2 separate regions of the Homo sapiens genome follow, and region 2 is linked to region 1. The links are contacts of gene promoters, found by promoter capture Hi-C in human tissues and cell types (Jung and others, 2019). All regions are on one chromosome and are shown on one strand. Each heading gives the region's core, a stretch centred on a gene start or on the middle of the fragment in contact. The rest is flanking DNA. Distances are from core to core; before and after follow the strand shown. Region 1 holds the start of SH3PXD2A (SH3 and PX domains 2A). Region 2 overlaps ARL3 (ARF like GTPase 3).

What was found. Contacts are between HindIII fragments. The study calls those that stand out against the background at their distance.
Region 2: a contact is called between a fragment that was not itself captured here and the fragment with the promoter of SH3PXD2A in region 1, in 1 of the 25 tissues and cell types used here (hippocampus).

What each region holds. Positions count from the first base shown.
Region 1 is chr10:103,853,932-103,857,610 of GRCh38, reverse strand. It overlaps SH3PXD2A (SH3 and PX domains 2A), which reads left to right and starts at 2,035. Exons shown (of 15, transcript NM_001394015.1): 1 at 2,035-2,416. The coding sequence starts at 2,345. The HindIII fragment of the contact is 10,601 bases long and covers 1-3,679 here.
Region 2 is chr10:102,691,372-102,695,070 of GRCh38, reverse strand. All of the region lies in intron 3 of ARL3 (ARF like GTPase 3), which reads left to right. Among named protein-coding and RNA genes, the nearest start is that of ARL3, 21 kb to the left of the region's middle. The HindIII fragment of the contact is 6,261 bases long and covers 1-3,699 here.

The DNA of each region.
Region 1 (3,679 bases), core at 786-3,285:
CAGGCTTAAAGGCCTGAATTTATAAAATGTCAAGTTGCAGGGAGTCTTTTAGGCAGGAGAAAGGCTACCACTTTGTAGGCCGCTAGGAAGTGGGGAAGAACTGGGCCCTCTCTCCTACAAATTTATTGTGCTTGGTGTGTTCATTGTGGATCTGGGTCCGAAAGAAGGGTAATAAGGAAACCACTAGTGCTGTTTTAGATGAGCTGACTGCTTTGATTCACAAGGGGACCCAAATCAAACTAAACCCCCTCCTCTTCTTCCCCCCACAACAGCTAAACACCAGCTCCCCTCGCTGGTGGCTTCTCAGGTTTTATTAGCACTTCCAGAAGACTTTGCCATCCACAGAAGACGAGTTATCCGAGAGCCATGATGAATCTCTTCCTCACAAACTCACAGGCTGTCTTGATCCATCATCAGAGAGGACCTGGAGCTGGCCAGCACCCTCCCAAGTTCGGGAGCTCAATATGGAGGGCCCGTTCCAGGTCTACCTCTCATCCCTTCAGGGAATAATCCTTGCTCATGGAGGTAGTGCCCTGTCCTCCCATTTTCCCATCAGCTGAGCAACATTACCAGGTGCACCTTCCCCCAGGACTCCTGCTCCAACATTCACAAAGGTTTTCTGTCATCTTCTCTGACCAAGAAGCTCTGGCCTGGTGCCAAGATCTCTCACAGTCTGAGCCCCCTAGGCCCATCCATCTTTTTTTTTCTTTGTCCCGTGCCATCGTTTGGTGTCCTAGCGCCCTTCCCCAGGAAGGTTGGAGGAATAGTGGGTTACTCTGTATGGAGCAAATATGTGAATAAATAAAGCCTTAGATCTGTGCCTGGGTTCTGACAGTCTAGAGAACGCGCAGAAGAAAGTATTAATGCAATTAGGTCACAAAATTATTTGTCCTCTTTTCAGATGTTTCACATTGGTCCACAGTCACAAAGCTTTATTGTGATTGTGTAACAACTGGAGTAGTTGTGAAAACACTACCCTTTAAATGTTTGAAAGCAGAATGGGAAAAAAATGTTGAACTAGAAGGGGGGAAGCTACATTGAATTAAGTAGTAACTGTGCTCCAAGTCCAGGGACCACGGACAAGTGGCTTGGAAAGTGGGTTTTCCAGACTAGAGGGAGGGGTGAGAATGCCAGAGCCTGGGGCTCACGGTGAGCTGGCCTCCAACCGGGTGGGTTTTCCCACCATTGTATGCTCCTTTCCCTGTCGCCAGCTTGGGGAGGGTCCCCAGGGGAGCCCTGGGCTTAAGGCAGTGGTGTTATGCAGAGTCTGTAACGTTGTCATTGGTAAATGATGCACAGGGTAGTTACACAAGCCCAGATCGATGGACGACTCAGGCAACGAATCGATCACTTTTCCGGGGAGAATTCACCCTTTATGACCTGCAGAGGGTCAGGTGGTTCGTCCAAAGAGGCTCTGGCTTGAAGGATTTAAAGCTGGCCTTTTCCCCATTCCCATCTCCTCCTCGGGGGCCTGGGCAGTAACAGCCGGGTAATAAACTACTTCTCATTAAAGAGATCTGGGGGTGGAAGTTGTAGGGGGACATAAAAGTGGGGACAAAAAGGCACAAATCCGCTCCGAGGCGGAAAGCCAGGATGGGGGCGCGCGGGGCTCACTTTCCCCGCTCCCTCTCCCCCCGAAGCCACCCTGAGTTTTTGTGCCTAGCGAACTAGCCCGGTGCTGCGCCAGGCCGCTGGCTGCGCGCTGGGCTCGGGTGGGGGCTCGTCGGCCCGCCCCTGCCACTGGGGCCGGGCTGCAGCCCCCTCCCCGTCGCCCCGAGCCCCTCCCCCGGCCCGGAGCCCCTCCCCGCGCGCTTCCCCTCTCTCCCCTCCCTCCCTTCCCTTCCCTGCCTGCCAGGCCCTGCCTCCGCCTCCTGCGCCCACAGCCTCCGCCAGCGCCGATCCCCCCGGAGCCCGAGCCGGAGAGCGGCGAAGGGGAGCCGCCGGCCCCTCCCCAGGACGCTGACAGCAGGCTCCGGGGCCCCCGCCCCGTCCCCTCGCCGACGGGACACACCCCCGCCCCTCCTCTGCTCCGCCAGTTCCCGCCGGACCCACCGGGCGGCGGAGAGAGCGAGCGGGCGAGCGCAGCGCGGCGGCCGCGCGGGAGTGAAGGGGCGCGCGGCAGGCCGGCGGGGAGTCCCCCGGGGCGCACGGAGCCCGCGCGCCCTCCGGGACCCTCCCCCGTCCCTGGGCCGGACCTGTGGGCGCCGGGAGTCCGGGCAGCGTTCGGCGCGCCGGGCCGGGGTGGCGGGCGGCCCCGGGACCCCGGCAGCTGGAGAAGGAGCCGGAGCCCGGCCGGGATGAGAAGGTGACGCCGCCGGGGGCGCCACTCGCTTTGTGGGGGAAGATGCTCGCCTACTGCGTGCAGGATGCCACCGTGGTGGACGTGGAGAAGCGGAGGAACCCCTCCAAGCACTACGTGAGTACAGCCCCCGCCGACCCTGCTGGGGGTGGCCCGAGGTCCCGGGAGGGCCCCGGATGGCCCCTTGCCCCTCCCAGCTGTGAGGTCGCGAAGCTAAGCGCCCACTGGGCAGCCAGCAGCCGTGGAGTTTCTTCGCAGGGCTGTGATCTCCAGGGAAGCCTCTTCTGTCCTTCCTCCTTCGCACCCCCGCCCCCCCGGTTTCTTTTTTTGGCATTGGAATTGGCAAGTGGCTGCCCTTGTCTGTTACAACGGTGAAGTCATCTGTCCGCCTTTGATGGATGGTGGGGGGAGCTTTCGTCAACCCCTCACAGAGCAGCCCCGTCGGGAAAGCGCATCTCCTCGGCCCTCCCCAGGGGCCCTGGGCGCTCACGCTCACACAGCCCGAGATGCTTTCAGAGCTCGCCCTGGAGAAGGAAGCCTCGCGCCCTGCCTCCCACGCCAGCTCTGTCTCTGCCTTCCTAGGCCTGGGGCTGGGGGCAGAAGGAAGCCGCCGCCCCCTTGCCCAACCTCCACCCTCCGCGCTAAGCTTTGATTTCCCTCATAAAGCCATTGTGTCCGTCGGTGTGAGGAGAATTGTGGCTTTTCCTTTTATCCCTCCTCTGGACGTGACCCTTAACCGGGTTCATTTCCTCTTAAGTGATGCTCCATCTCCAGACACGAGGAGGCGAATGTTTGCTGTGGTCTCCGAGGAACCGCCCCTCCCCCTTCCTCCCCCAAACTTTAATGAGAAGGGGTTAAGGTTGACTGGGGCAGCTCCAGAGCCTATGTGACAGTTCCCCTTTCATCTCAGCCGGTCCTGTCTTCCCATCCCTCACACCTTAGGAAGTAAACACGGTGTCCTTGACCCCTCTGAGCGTCTGTGCTCCTGTACTTGAGATAGAAGAGACCCAAGCACAGAGGACTGCATGTTATTTGCAAATTGGGTATTTAGAGGAGCAGTTCCAGTGCTCAAAGCATTAATCTTAACAGTTAAAACAGGCGCTGGTTGCTGCCCTGGATTGTACATTGATCTCTGAAGTGCCTTTTCTTCCACTGTTGCAAAGGGACTGGGGTTTGTGGCAATGTCAGCCTCGGGCTACTCTTTTTGCCTTTGTCACCAGTGTAGCTCTGAACTTTGAGTTTCTTTACAGCTGAGCAAATGCGGCTGGGCTCATATGGGGAGGAGGTAAATGTGGAGGCAGGTTGACTAGGCAGGGAGGTGGGTGCCTGTCGGGTCCAGTCCCTGACACCCTTAGAGAGTTGTTTCTTTTGTGTCATCTG
Region 2 (3,699 bases), core at 158-2,657, 1.2 Mb after region 1:
GACACTACCTGACATCAAGATTCTCTGTAAAGCAAGTAAACAAGACAGCATAGGCCGGGCGCAGTGGCTCACGCCCGCACTCCCAACACTTTGGGAGGCTGAGGCAGGCAGATCACCTGAGGTCAGGAGTTCAAGAGCAGCCTGGCCAATGGGGTGAAACCCCATCTGTATTAAAAATACAAAAATTAGCCGGGTGTAGTGGCAGGCACCTGTAATCCCAGCTGCTCGGGAGGCTAAGACAGGAGAATCGCTTGAACCCAGGAGGCAGAGGTTGCAGTGAGCCGAGATTGCACCATTGCACTCCAGCCTGGGCAACAAGTGTGAAACTCCGTCTCAAAAAAAAAAGAAGACAGCATACATTAGAGAAAGAGTAGACAAATTGATCAACAGAACAGAATAGAGAGCCCCAAAATAGGCTTACATGAATATGGCCCACTCTCTCTGACAAAAGAACATGACAGTTCAAGGGAGGAAGGATAATCTTTTCAGCAAGTGGCGCTGGAATAATGGGACATCGACATGCAAAAAAAAAAGAATCTAGACCCATCCTTACCCCTTAACTTAAAATGTTAAAATAGATTCTTTTTTCCTTCGACCTAGAGCCCTTGACAAAATGGATCTTAAACCTAAATGTAAAACCCAAACACTATAAAACTCCTAGAAGACAACATAGGAGAACATCTAGGTGACCTTGAGTTTGGTGATGAGGTTTTAGATACACAAAAAGCATAATCCATGAAAGAAATAAATTGGACTTAAATGAATTTAAAACTTCTGGAAGCAGCCGGGCGCGGTGGCTCATGCCTGTAATCCCAGCACTTTGGGAGGCCAAGGCGGGAGGATCACGAGGTCAGGAGATCGAGACCATCCTGGCTAACACGGTGAAACCCCATCTCTACAAAAAATACAAAAAAAATTAGCCGGGCGCGGTGGCAGGCGCCTGTAGTCCCAGCTACTCAGGAGGCTGAGGCAGGAGAATGGCGTGAACGTGGGAGGCAGAGCTTGCAGTGAGCCGAGATCACACCACTGCACTCCAGCCTGGGCGACAGAGCAAGAATCCATCTCAAAAAAAATAAATAAAAATAAAACTTCTGGAAGCTGGATTTGGTGGCTCATGTCTGTAATCTCAGCCCTTTGGGAGGCCGAGGTGGGAGGATGCTTCGAGTCCAGAAGTTCAAGACCAGCTTGCACAATATACTGTGACCCTGTCTCTACAAAAAATAAAAAAAAATTAGCCAGTCATGGTGATGTGGACCTGTAGTCCCAGCTACTCGGGAGACTGAGGTGGAAGGATCACTTGAGCCCAGGAGGTTGAGTCTGCAGTGAGCTGTGATCACTACTGCACTCCAGTCTGGGTGACAGAGTGAGACTCTATCTCAAAAAAATAAATAAAATAAAACTTCTGCTCTGCAAAAGAGACTGCTAAGAGAATAAAAATACAAACCACAGACTGGGAGAAAATATTTGCAAAACACATATATGTTAAAGTAGTTATATCTAAAATATACAAATAACTCAAAACTCAAGAATAAGCAAACAACTTGGTTTTACAAATGGGCAAAAGATCTGAACAGACACCTCATCAAAGAAACAGATAAGCATATAAAAAATGTTCAGTATTATATGTCATTATGGATTTACAAATTAAAACAGCAATAATATGGTACTACATATTAATACCTACTAGACTGGCTAAAATAAAAAAAAAACTGACAATACCAAATGCTGATACGGATGTAGAGCAATGGGACTCCTCTTCATTGCTGGTGGAAATACAAAATAGTACACCCACTTTGGAAGACAGTTGGTAGTTTCTTACAAAGCTAAACATAGTCTTAGCATACAGTCCAGCAGTACTCCAAGATATATACCCAGTTAGTTGGAAATTGATATTCCACACAAAATTCTGCATAGGAATGTTTATGGCATCTTTATTCCTAATTGCCAAAACCTGGAAGCATCCAAGATGTCCTTCAATAGGTTAATAGATAAACAAACTGTGGTACACCCGTATAGTAGAATATTGTTCAATGATAAAAATACATGAGCTATCAAGTCATGAAAAGACACAGAGGGGCCGGGTGCGGTGGCTCATGCCTGTAATCCCAGCAGTTTGGGAGGCCAAGGCGGGCAGATCACGAGGTCAGGAGATCGAGACCATCCTGGCTAACACGGTGAAACCCTGTCTCTACTAAAAGCTGGGCGTGCCGGCGGGCGCCTGTAGTCCCAGCCTACTAGGGAGGCTGAGGCAGGAGAATGGCATGAACCCAGAAGATGGAGCTTGCAGTGAGCCAAGATCGCGCCACTGCACTCCAGCCTGGGTGACAGAGCGAGACTCTGTCTCAAAAAAAAGAAAAAAGACACGGAGGGCTCACACCTGTAATCCCAGCACTTTGGGAGGCTGAGGTGGGTGGATCACCTGAGGTCAGGAGTTCGAGGCCAGCCTGGCCAGCATGGCGAAACCCCATCTCTGCTAAAAATATAAAAATTAGCCAGGTGTGGTGGCACATGCCTGTAATCCCAGCTCCTCGAGAAGCTGAGGCAGGAGTATCGCTTGAACCCAGGAGGCAGAGGTTGCAGTGAGCCGAGATCACACTACTGCACTCCAGCCTGGGTGACAGAGCGAGACTCCGTCTCAACAAAAAAACAAAAGTGTATACATGTTTCAAAAGCTATAGACTCCTTTTTCCTCTTTCAATCATGAGTTAGGAAAAAGCAGGTGGCTGAGAGAAATTACATTCCTATCTGTTCATCTGCTGGATTAAGGTATCTTGAAAGAAATACCCAAGGAAGAGAAGTATATAAAGACATTAATGATTGTAAGTCTCCATAAGGAGGTCTCAGAAACTTTCTGGTCTCCAGGTAAGGGTAATTTTAAATCATAAGCTCTAACAGCTTGAGGGCAGACTGCAAGTTGGTTGTAATATAATGTAACCCTGGATTCCACATTCACATGATCTGAGAGTACCTGGGAATTAACGTACAATCCAGCAAAAATCGGTTCACAGCAACACTAGAGAAGCTTCCTCCAGCTGCATCCTTGTACTCGACACTAGTACAAGATAATAGTTTGGATTGAGAGTCAACCTTTCATTATTTTCCAGTGCTGTTTGAGATTAAACAAGTATGAGGGAGGAACTGAGTCCCTGGGATTAGATTCTAAGGCCTTGTGACTCACAGCCCTGTCTGCCAGTTTTGTAGCAGCTTAGAGTGAAGGTGGTGGATGGGTTATATTTGTCTATGTTTAATAGTCTTCCATTGTTGGTTGAAAAAGACTTATTACGCTAGACTCCACACTGCCTAGAAGAGCAGGCTTGAGGCTTGACACAAGAGTTGCCTGGTTCATTCTTTCCCATTATCTCTAGAGTACCGTAATCAAATCTTGCTTTATAGAGCAGGTCGACAAATTGATCCAGGCTGCCTCCAGTTTTTGTACAGCCTTCAAGCTAGGAGTGGTTTTTACATTTCTAAGTGGTTGGGGAGAAAAACGCCAAAAGAATAATGTTTCACAACATGTGAAAATTATATGAAATTCACATTTCAGTGTCCATGAAGTTACTTGGAACATAGCCACATACATTTGTTTACAGATTTTCTGTGGTTGCCTTCTAACAATAACAGGAGCGTTCAAGAGTTGTGAAAGAGATTGTATGGAAATCATCATTCTCAGTAAACTGTCGCAAGAACAAAAAACCAAAC